Regions from separate parts of the Homo sapiens genome. Here all the other regions are linked to region 1. The links are contacts of gene promoters, found by promoter capture Hi-C in human tissues and cell types (Jung and others, 2019). All regions are on one chromosome and are shown on one strand. The core of a region is centred on a gene start or on the middle of the fragment in contact, and the rest is flanking DNA. Distances in the headings are between cores, read along the strand shown. Region 1 holds the start of ABRA (actin binding Rho activating protein). Region 2 overlaps RSPO2 (R-spondin 2). Region 3 overlaps RSPO2 (R-spondin 2).

Region 1 (4,189 bases), core at 1,533-4,032:
CATCTGCTGACATCCCCAAACCCCAGTAGCTGACTGCAATGCCAGTTAATACGTGAAAGACTGTTAACATTTGCTGTTTCCCTTTCTTCTCCCTCTATCAGGACTGAATCTGGGGCAGGTGTGGACAGGCAAGCAGGAAAATCCCGTTGAAAGCTATAAATTATCCTGATTCTGGGCTAAGCGTATGGGTGTCTTAGAGGAACTCTATTTTTTCCTAAGACCTTCCAAGTGGGATGAAGAGATTCTGATAAGAACCAAACAGGCTGCAGTGAATCTGCATTGCTGGGAGGAATGCCAGAAATTTCAGGCTCAGATTGAAATCTTTGTTTGTAATAGTTTTCTTTCCTTGTGATCCAATTTCCTCTTAATTAATCAAGAGGGATTTTTTTTTTTCTCCGCATTTCTGGCCCTCAGTTAATGTTATCAGATGCCGTTGAACTCTGGAAACACCTCTGACAGATCTGTAGATTAAGTATTAAATCACTTCCCAATTTTTTTTATCCTAAGAGGTAAATAACCCACACGATGAAAAACGAATAGCGGCCGGGCGCGGTGGCTCGCGCCTGTAATCCCAGCACTTTGGAAGGCCGAGGAAGGAGGATCACGAGGCCAGGAGATCAAGACCATCCTGGCTAACACGGTGAAACCCTGTCTCTGCTAAAAATACAAAAAAATTAGCCGGGCGTGGTGGCGGGCTCCTGTAGTCCCAGCTACTCCAGAGGCTGAGGCAGGAGAATGGTGTGAACCTGGGAGGCGGAGCTTGCGGTGAGCCGAGATCGCGCCACTGCACTCCAGCCTCGGCGACAGAGCGAGACTCCGTCTCAAACAAAAAAACAAAACAACAACAACAACAAAAAACTAATACCAACTTTTTTCCAAAATAAATGTCTCACTCTCTGAAATAATTAACTTTTATACCTTTTTGTGCTCTTAAACAGCAGTTTTCAATCAGTATGGTTACTTGCATGCAAGACTGAAGGAAAGGATATAGTTTTAAAGCCAACAGACCTGTTGAATGAAAAAAAATTCCGTCTTACTTTAAGAAATTATTCATTGCTGAGCCCTGGACATTTTTATCTGGTTTAATACACTGCATAGATGTTTCTCTTTCTGTCCACATGCTTGTCTTTCCAGTCCTTTTAAAAAAATATTATATTTCAGTCCCTCTTGTGAGAGTTGAAAAACTGTCTTTGCCTACATGAACATAAAGTCCTGCTAAGGAAGATTGTGTTACTAAAAACAAAAGGGGCCAGACGTGGGGGCTCACATCTGTCATCCCAGCACTTTGGGAGGCCAAGGTGGGAAGACTGCACAAGCTCAGGAGTTTGAGACCAGCCTGGGCAACATAGCGAGACTCCGTCTATATAAAACAAAAACAAAAACAATTAGCTAGGCATGGTGGCTCATGCTTGTATTCCCAGCTGCTTGGGAGACTGAGGCAGGAGGACTGATTGAGCACAGGAGGTCAAGGCTGCAGTGAGCCATCATCACACCACTGCACTCCAGCCTGGGGACACAGCAAGACCTTATCTCAAAAAACAAAACAAAACAACAACCACAAACCAAACGGTAAGGGTAGGCGGGATGGGGATAAGAAGTGAGCTACCGATAGCTTTCATTTATTCTGTCCTTAGAATTCTGTCCTTAGATGATCTTTTCAAACAAAGTATTTCAAAATATGTATTCCAACAATAATTTCTTTCTTTCTTTCTTTCTTTTTTTTGAGACGGAGTCTCGCTCGTCACCCAGGCTGGAGTGCAGTGGCTCGATCTCCGCTCACTGCAAGCTCCGCCTCCCGGGTTCACAGGATTCTTCTGCCTCAGCCTCCCGAGTAGCTGGGACTACAGGCGCCCGCCACTACGCCCGGCTAATTTTTTGTATTTTTAGTAGAGACGGGGTTTCACCATGTTAGCCAGGATGGTCTCGATCTCCTGACCTCGTGATCTGCCCGCCTCGGCCTCCCAAAGTGCTGGGATTACAGGCGTGAGCCACCTCGCCCGGCCTCCAATAATAATTTCTAAAATCCAATGTGTATACAGGTTTTAAAAACATTTTTTAATGATTGGACCAAAATTTTGACTCCCTTTTTGTATTTTAATATGAGTTATCTATACAATAGTTCAAAGTTGGGACTAGAAAGTAATTAGTCTTTGACTATCTGGACTTTGGTCTTTCTCGTATCTGGGCTTCAATTTTCTCATTTGGAAAATGAAGATTGGATGAGTTGATTTTCTAAGGTCTATTTCTAATGGAGTTGAATGAAAAAGAAAAAGGCAACTTAGGATCTTTGATAACTGGAATAAAAGGAGGCACACGCTTTGAATTACACAGAGATGGATTTGAATCTCATATTTTATTAGCTGCTGGAAGTTAGATTTTATTTTACTTAGCTATAAAGTGGAACTAATTAGGAGCTGTACTGAGGGCTGCTGGGGTTTAAGTGGGAACAATCCTATAATGTTCCCAGGATAATATGTATGCACCTATAAATGGTAGGACCATATTAAGGTCAGACAAACGTAAGGCTGAGCACATGACTTGATCTAGTAATTTCCACTCTGGCACTTGGAGAAGAGAGTGAGCATATCACTGTTCCTTACCAGCAGAGATGTCCCTCTGCCGTGATGAAACTGGAGCTGTCATGATTTATAAAAAGAACACCATCAGGGCAAAGGCGCCACATCTTGGCAAGAAATGCTTCACATAGTTTCCATCGTCACTAAGCTCTCCTTCCCACCCCGCACCCTGCTTCTATTTAAATCCCAGGCACTCCACTGGACCACACTCATTTTAGCCAGTGTCCAGGCTATCAGCAGAGAAAGACAGGTGGGCAGCATGGCTCCGGGCGAAAAGGAAAGCGGGGAGGGCCCAGCCAAGAGCGCCCTCCGGAAGATACGCACAGCCACCCTGGTCATCAGCTTGGCCCGAGGTTGGCAGCAGTGGGCGAATGAGAACAGCATCAGGCAGGCCCAGGAGCCTACAGGCTGGCTGCCGGGAGGGACCCAGGACTCACCTCAAGCTCCTAAACCAATCACACCCCCTACTTCACACCAGAAAGCTCAGAGTGCCCCAAAGTCGCCACCCCGCCTGCCAGAAGGACATGGAGATGGACAAAGCTCAGAGAAAGCCCCTGAGGTTTCTCACATCAAAAAGAAAGAGGTGTCCAAAACGGTGGTCAGCAAGACTTATGAGAGAGGAGGGGACGTGAGCCACCTCAGCCACAGGTACGAGAGGGATGCTGGTGTGCTTGAACCTGGGCAGCCAGAGAATGACATTGACAGAATCCTCCACAGCCACGGCTCCCCAACGCGGAGGAGAAAATGTGCCAACCTGGTGTCTGAGCTAACCAAGGGCTGGAGAGTGATGGAGCAGGAGGAGCCCACATGGAGGAGTGACAGCGTAGACACAGAGGACAGCGGCTATGGAGGAGAGGCTGAGGAGAGGCCCGAGCAGGATGGAGTGCAGGTGGCTGTGGTCAGGATCAAGCGCCCCTTGCCCTCCCAGTAAGTGAATGCATTCTCCCACTCCTTGTGTCAGGATCACTATTGAGCCCCAACCAAGTCTGGGAATCCAGGCAGCAGATGAAGTCCTGCCAGGGTTAGAGTGAGAATCTCAAAGACTGGACAGGCAGTGAGTACTGTAGAGGAGGGATGTCCCTGGGCTGAAGGTCAGTGCCAACCTTAGACATGGACCTTTTGGTCAGGGCCTGCGCTATTTTGTTTCTCGTTTTTGTTTTGAACTGAACACTCAAGTCTTAGCCTCAACAAAGATGAAGCCATCAGAGAGGGAAGCCTGTTTTTCGTGAATTCTTTAAGTCAGTTCTATAATGAGTAACAAATTGGCTTATTTCTTTAGAGATAAGAGTGGTTTCTGATAGACTCATTGGGGAAACTTTTACCTTGTCCCAAATGTCTATGCTATTATCAGGAGATACGTCTGCTTCAATAACACCCATGGAATACAAATCTCTGACTCTAAACAGGTGGAGGCTGCTGTCTAATTTGAAAGCAGGCTCTGAATGAAGTCAGACAGACCCAAGTTCAAATCCTAGTTCTGCCCCTAACTAGTCATTTTTAAAGGTGATTTCATCAGCTGGGCGCAGTGGCTCAGCCTGTAATCTCAGCACTTTGGGAGGCTGAGGAGGGCGGATCACTTGAGGCCAGGAGTTTGAGACCAGCCTGACCAACAT
Region 2 (3,972 bases), core at 1,227-3,726, 1.1 Mb before region 1:
AAGAACAGCCAACAGGATTCTTTCTTGTTCATTGAGACAAAAGTCTTCCTGTACTGAAGGTGTGTAGGGGTGACTTACTTTCTGTAAAATGCAGGAGACCTTTAAAGCCCTTTTCTGTTCTAAAAATCCTCTGATTTCTGTGTGTTTAGAACTCAAAGAGGTGATGGACCTAAGACAGATGTCTCATGTTCTTTATTCTTTTTTCTCAAAATCTTATGTGTACAAAGGTTGAGACCTTATAAAGTAAGACTGTAAAACTATAACCACAGATGGAGGAAGTAAAATATAGCAGAGGCAAAGAAAAAAACAGCATTTAAAAAATTCCTGCTGGAGGAAAACCTCAACTAGTTAGCTTGTAGCCTGGGCTTCCTAGTGGCTAAGGCAAAGAAGAGAAATACTTGGTATGATCGTCTGGTAGTTAGACACATACCACCAGTTTATCAAAACAAATAAGCATTCTTCTTGCTCTCCATTAATAACAACAACTTGTCCAGGGGATTTGGATAAGAAGCCATAAGGTATATAATGAATGATGTCTCCATGAATTTTTATAGAAAATAAAGGATTGCACATATGTCATTTTATACATTGGTATTTGGAATATGGAGGAAATAATGTTAAAAGCAAGACTCTTTTTCCCCCATGGGGAAAGGGAGAGAGGAGTTTGAAACTTCTGGTATGTTTGCTATAGATAGATGCTTATTTTCTTTTGACCCACTGACACGTGGAGCAGTAGTAAGATGTAAAGATGTGTAGAAAAGGGTAGCATTGTTAGAAGTAGGAGGGAATAAATGGAATTTTTGTGGCAGGATGATATTTGAAAGACGGATCAGGCCACTGGGAGGTTTTTCAATATGCCAGTTCCCTGTAACAGGAAAATCAGTCTCTGTTTTAGACAGCATATCTAATTTAGTAAATTATTATTATTCTGTCAAAATTAATGTGAACAATTTTCTCTTTGAGGCTTTTTCCATAGGTGATGTTTTCCAGATGGGCTTTGTGCAAAACTCCCAATATTTTTGTGTTTTCTTTCCTAGAGAAAGAGCCATTTCTGACATCTCTTCTTTTCTTTCCTTCATTGCAGGGAAGAGAACACCAAAGGCGAAGGAGAAGAGGAACAAGAAAAAGAAAAGGAAGCTGATAGAAAGGGCCCAGGAGCAACACAGCGTCTTCCTAGCTACAGACAGAGCTAACCAATAAAACAAGAGATCCGGTAGATTTTTAGGGGTTTTTGTTTTTGCAAATGTGCACAAAGCTACTCTCCACTCCTGCACACTGGTGTGCAGCCTTTGTGCTGCTCTGCCCAGTATCTGTTCCCAGTAACATGGTGAAAGGAAGCACCACCAGCATGGCCCCTGTGTTATTTATGCTTTGATTTGAATCTGGAGACTGTGAAGGCAGGAGTAAGTGCACAGCCCGTGACTTGGCTCAGTGTGTGCTGAGAGAATCCGTCCCCGGCACCATGGACATGCTAGAGGTGTGAGGCTGCAGAACACCGCTGGAGGACGGACTTGTGCCTATTTATGTGAAAGAAGATGCTTGGCAGGCAATGCGCTACTCACTCGTGACCTTTATTTCTCACATTGTGCATTTTCAAGGATATGTTTGTGTGGATATCTGCTTAGTGTTACCACATGGTATTCTCAGCATGTTACCTTCACACTGTTGTGCGATGAAACTGCTTTTAGCTGAGGATATGCTCTGGAAATTCCTGCTCAGTTTCACTGCAGCCCTAATATGTACATATACTGCAGGAGCTACATATAAAGCTCTTATTTACTGTATATTTATGCTTTCTTGTGGGTAACAAGTCATACCTGATTAATATGATGCCACTTTGTTTCTAGTGGTTCCTAACCCATTGTCTGATAAATGACTTTTCTAGTTTGGGGAATTGACACTTGTTTTGTTGCCTCTTGAAACTTTTTTTTTTTCCCCTCATTGTGGGCTTATTTCTCATTGTAAGGGTAGGATAAACTAGTTTTTGTATATAGAGTCAAATGACCAGTGTCAAAGAGTTTGCATATTGGGTAGACCTTCTCCACTCCACATGTCCCACACATATAGATAAAGCAGCAGGCGGCATCTGGCAATCAGAAGCCCAAACTGCCTTTGAGTCTAAGATGTGATGACTTTGATGAAACACAACTGAAAACATGAGGGACTATATCCAGTCACTTGTAGCCAGTTTCACAGGCCAGCTACAGAATTGTCCAAACAAACATTATTTCTGACTGCAATTTTTTTCCCCCAAATTTAAAGCAATCCCTGGCTTTAAATGACAAGGCACCTACCAATGTTCTTGGGTCACTGAAGAAGCTACTACCATGAGCCTGGGCATAGAATTTTAGGAGATAAAAGGATGAATTTCTGTGACTGCCAGTCAGATCTTAACAGGTTTCTGTTGAGCCAGAATCTGTTTCAGATCCAAGATGGAGAGGAACACTATGGAAACTTCCCAGGTGACTTTCAGAGCAGTTGTTTCAAACACATCATTGTCCTTTTAGGGGAACCAGTTTTTAGAAGGTTGTGAATTGGCTTTTTCACAAAGCATGATTATCTTCCTGGCTGATCCAGGAGAAAATTAGAACAGAAAAATAATGGTTGTGGATTTTGAAACAAAGCAAGGTAAAGCCTTTTTTTTTTCACCTTGCATTGGCAAAACTACCTCTTCAGTGTTTTTAACTTTTGATTCAAAAGCATCTTACCAATAAGGATAAATATCATATACATCGTTATGAAAATATTGCTATGAGATAATAAGCCACATATGAATGTTGTATACAACTTTAGGGTTTACATTTAATCCTGAAGTGTTACCTCCTTTCATGTCTATTTACACTATTTTCCCATTTACTAAGTGGGGAGGGGGTCTCCTTATATAGTGCTTCATCGTTAATAAGTCAATACCTGTTGTTCCTGGGATGTTCTTTTTTGTGCATTAAAAACTTCAAAATTATTTTTTGTGGAGATTTCTTTTTTACTTTAGAGATACATTTAGAAATAACTCAGTACTTTGTTCTACCCCCAAAATAACAGCCCTTTAAAAAAGACAGGCAAATCTTTAAAAACCTATATTGGTAACTACATCTAGAACACTAACTAACTAGTTTATAGATAAACTAGATAACTGTAAACTAGAGTCCAAGTGCCCGAGTTCTAATCCAGACTGAGAGTGGCCTGTGAAAATTACTTAATCCCTCCACTCTCAGTTTCCTTATCTGTGAAATGGGGATCACATTATCATCTGCCTCTAGGGGCTGTGTTTTAAGGACCAAATGAAAATATATACAGGGAAATATATACAGGGTTGTACTTTAAGGATATAATTAGGTAAAATGTGTAAAGTATGGTCACCACGGCATTCTATATACTAAGTACTATACAAGTTGGTCACCTATTACATCTTTCAATGGCTATTTAGATTCTTTTAAAAAATATTGATTTCTCCTTATTAACAAAATAGAACATTTATGAAAAGTATCAATCTAATCTATTGCTTGGTGCCTGGGCATTATTTGCTAAAACATTTACATCTGCTTGATTTCTGACTCTCCCTGATATAAGCAGCATACACACACAGATACACACAAAACTGAATTCTTTCCTCTATCAATCAGTACGGGTGCAATCAAGGAAATAAACTAGTCGGGGTGTTTCAAATGGGGAATTTAACACCAGAAATTGGTTATACAGGTGATAAAGGAGACACGAAGCCAAAATATGTTGCCAAGATGACCCAGAGATTAGCAACAGCAGGAGGCACTATTTTACCCCTAATGCAAGAGGAATTACAAGAAGAGGTGGAGTTTCCAAAATCTAGAAGCCACAGGTGCCCAGCTAGACTTAGAACCATAGCTGAGGCTAGAGCTATAACCACAGAAGGAGCTGGAACTGAGGACAGAAAGCTTGTTTGGTAGGAGCTGAAATATTGTAGATGATCTTGTTGCTGTGAGAAATGCTGCTTGAGGC
Region 3 (3,693 bases), core at 1,147-3,646, 1.2 Mb before region 1:
CTTATATAACCAAGGAAATACAACACATTGTTAAAGAGTGAAATCTTTGGGGTTCGTAAGCTTCTTTACTTAGTACCTCTGTGAACTTTGCGATTAAGTGACTTCACCAATCCTTTACAAACCCAAAAGTTTCCTCATTTGTAAAATAATACCTATGTCAAAACTTGTAATGAATACCAAGTAAGTCAATACATGTGAAATGCTTGATGTTGTACATGGGCGCATATTAATGGTAATTAGCAATGATGTTGATAATGTCAGTCCACTAAGGAATATAGATAAAATGATCTTAATGGTACTGATCTAGAGAAGTGGTTCTTAAACCAAGGAGAACATCAGAATCACCTGAAAATCTTAAACTAAGTAGGCAAATAGATGCATAGATTTTTTTCTATGAATACTAGAACTGAATTGGGGTGAGGTAATCCAGTCTGGCAGACATTGTGCCTTATACTGTTACTTCTTTAAAAATTAGAGTTAATAAATACAGACGGAATTGCTTTGCATTTTTCTTCATGGTAGAAAACCTATTTGGATAGGTGGAAGAAATAGAAGAAAAGCAGTTACTGAAAAACTAAAATCTCTAACTGTTCTAAGTTTCCTATAATATATACTAGATAGTTCTAAGGTGAGAGACAGACACTGACACTGTGTTTTAAAGTATCCTTCAGCAATTTTGAAGTCTTAATTGAATGTTTTCTTCCTCAGCAGAAACTGAACCCATTTATCTGTATAAGCTCTCCAAGCTTGTAGTTATTGAAAAAGTTCTCTGTCCTCCCTCTCTCTCTCTTCTTAGCCAAGAGCAGTGTGCATATTATTTGCTTGCTTGGGTGCTGTTATGCGAGTTCGTGTATTTAAAGCTTGTGAGAGAGCCAAGCCACAGGATCTGGCTGGCTTTCAGCTGCTAAACAGGGGGCATGTAACTTGCCATTGGTCCCCAACTGCGAGAATTGTGGATGTAATTTCTTTTTGGTAAACATCCATCCTGAAGTGAATTTATCTCCTCTACACATTTGTTTTCCTTTGGGTGTTTTCCTTTTGTTGTATGATCCTCACTTCGTTGGACATGAGTACTTCTGTAGTGTTACTTATCCTCTCAAAACAATGAAAAATTACTTTTGCAAAGCTGTTTAAGTCAGAGGATGTAAAATGGATCCCATCCAAAGCAGCCATTACCATCCATCAGAGGTAGGAAGAGAGACGTCTACTACCAGTCAGACAACTCACAGTCCATGGTGTGACTGAGCTGTGGCAGCAGCCGTGGCATTGGCCTTGCAACAGTGTCAGGGCATGCGGTCCAGCCTTTCTTGTGATTTGGCTCTGAGTTAGATTGATTTATATGGTTGGTTTAAGGAAGGCTAAGAAAATCTATTCTTGATCTTCTGGTCTCATTGACATTCTCTGTCACTGTCATTGTTATTATCACCACCAACTACCATCACCACCACCACTAACATGTACTGATGCTCACAATACGCCATGAACCGGACTAAACTTTTACTTAATTTCCTTATTTAATCATAACGCCAACTTTATCTCATAGGAACTACTATTTCTCACACTTCACAGATGAGAAACTGAAGCCCTAGAGAAGATACCCGCTATGAAGCTTTGGATAAGTTACAGTGGCAGAGCTGAGGCTGAAACCAAGGCTCAGTCTCCAAAGAGCATGTTCTAAACTTGTCTGTTATATTGCTCTCCTGAATTAAGATGATTGTTGGAAAGCATCCACTTTAGGAACTCACCACTTTTAAACATTCCATACATCAAAATTTGGAATGGCATTTCTCCTAGTTCTGTTACTTTTATGTAATCTAAGTGCCTTTACTAAAGGGAATCAAAAGGTTAGGCTTAGAAGCACAGTGTTGGAGAAGTCTTTACAGTGTAATCTGGAATACTTTGGCAAGATTAAATTTTTAGTCTTTTGTTTAAAATAAAAATGACATTTCAAAAGAAGAATAGGCAGTATGTGTTTATATAAAAAGCTAATTATTCAAACTTTGTCAGCTAAGCAGTACATCTGTTAACTATGTATTTTTTAAAAGGGTAAAGGATGATCTAATAAGGTTTAAGGAATGTAGAGATTATATGGAACCTGGTGGCTATTTTTCTCTCTCAGAAACTACTGAAGTAACGACAGAAGGGGGTTCAGAGTTCAAATAATCAAGAGATCCTTAGCACTTAAGGTTATTAAGAATACTTAAGTATTCTCATGGGTCTCTAAAATACTTTTTCCAGGATAAATGCAGGTATACATATTTTAAGGCATATATATAGAGCAGATGAGCCCTCTAGGTCTTTACCTGCACAGTGATTTTTTTGGTCTATATTTAATATTTCTGATTAGTTAGGAATTTTAGAATTTGCTAGTTACCATTGGTGTAAACAAAACAGAATTGGACATGTGAGTTGCTCTCCATTATATAAACCTTAGTTGCACATCTGTAATACAGAGTATTTGAACATAGGATTAATGATCACTGGCCTCTGATGAACATCGATACAAAAATCCTCAATAAAATACTGGAAAACCGAATCCAGCAGTACATCAAAAAGCTTATCCACCATGATCAAGTGGGATTCATCCCTGGGATGCAAGGCTGGTTCAACATATGCAAACCAATAAATGTAATCCAGCATATAAACGGAACCAAAGACAAAAACCACATGATTATCTCAATAGATGCAGAAAAGGCCTTTGACAAAATTCAGTAGCCCTTCATGCTAAAAACTCTCAATAAATTAGGTATTGATGGGACGTATCTCAAAATAATAAGAGCTATTTATGACAAACCCACAGCCAATATCATACTGAATGGGCAAAAACTGGAAGCATTCCCTTTGAAAACTGGCACAAGACAGGGATGCCCTCTCTCACCACTCCTATCCAACATAGTGTTGGAAGTTCTGGCCAGGGCAATCAGGCAGGAGAAAGAAATAAAGGGTATTCAATTAGGAAAAGAGGAAGTCAAATTGTCCCTGTTTGCAGATGACATGATTGTATATCTAGAAAACCCCATCTTCTCAGCCCAAAATCTCCTGAAGCTGATAAGCAACTTCAGCAAAGTCTCAGGATACAAAATCAATGTACAAAAATCACAAGCATTCTTATACACCAATAACAGACAAACACAGAGCAAAATCATGAGTGAACTCCCATTCACAATTGCTTCAAAGAGAATAAAATACCTAGGAATCCAACTTACAAGGGATGTGAAGGACCTCTTCAAGGAGAACTATAAACCACTGCTCAATGAAATAAAAGAGGACACAAACAAATGGAAGAACATTCCATGCTCATGGATAGGAAGAATCAATATCGTGAAAATGGCCATACTGCCCAAGGTAATTTATAGATTCAATGCCATCCCCATCAAGCTACCAATGACTTTCTTCACAGAATTGGAAAAAACTACTTTAAAGTTCATATGGAACCAAAAAAGAGCTCGCATTGCTAAGTCAATCCTAAGCCAAAAGAACAAAGCTGGAGGCATCATGCTACCTGACTTCAAACTATACTACAAGGCTACAGTAACCAAAACAGCATGGTACTGGTACCAAAATAGAGATATTGACCAATGGAACAGAACAGAGCCCTCAGAACTAATACCACGTATCTACAACTAACTGATCTTTGACAAACCTGAGAAAAACAAGCAATGGGGAAAGGATTCCCTATTTAATAAATGGTGA

Evidence for each region. The method cuts DNA at HindIII sites, captures the fragments that hold promoters and counts their contacts. A contact is called where the count stands out against the background at its distance.
Region 2: a fragment that was not itself captured here is called in contact with the fragment with the promoter of ABRA in region 1 in 1 of the 25 tissues and cell types used here (mesenchymal stem cells).
Region 3: a contact is called between a fragment that was not itself captured here and the fragment with the promoter of ABRA in region 1, in 1 of the 25 tissues and cell types used here (dorsolateral prefrontal cortex).

Annotation. Positions count from the first base shown.
Region 1 is chr8:106,768,837-106,773,025 of GRCh38, reverse strand. ABRA (actin binding Rho activating protein) reads left to right here and starts at 2,782. Exons shown (of 2, transcript NM_139166.5): 1 at 2,782-3,503. The coding sequence starts at 2,836. The HindIII fragment of the contact is 12,258 bases long and covers 1-4,189 here.
Region 2 is chr8:107,898,303-107,902,274 of GRCh38, reverse strand. It overlaps RSPO2 (R-spondin 2), which reads left to right. Exons shown (of 6, transcript NM_178565.5): 6 at 1,085-2,959. The coding sequence ends at 1,200. Among named protein-coding and RNA genes, the nearest start is that of RSPO2, 180 kb to the left of the region's middle. The HindIII fragment of the contact is 7,092 bases long and covers 1-3,972 here.
Region 3 is chr8:107,926,632-107,930,324 of GRCh38, reverse strand. The region is part of intron 5 of RSPO2 (R-spondin 2); the gene reads left to right. Among named protein-coding and RNA genes, the nearest start is that of RSPO2, 160 kb to the left of the region's middle. The HindIII fragment of the contact is 3,185 bases long and covers 804-3,693 here.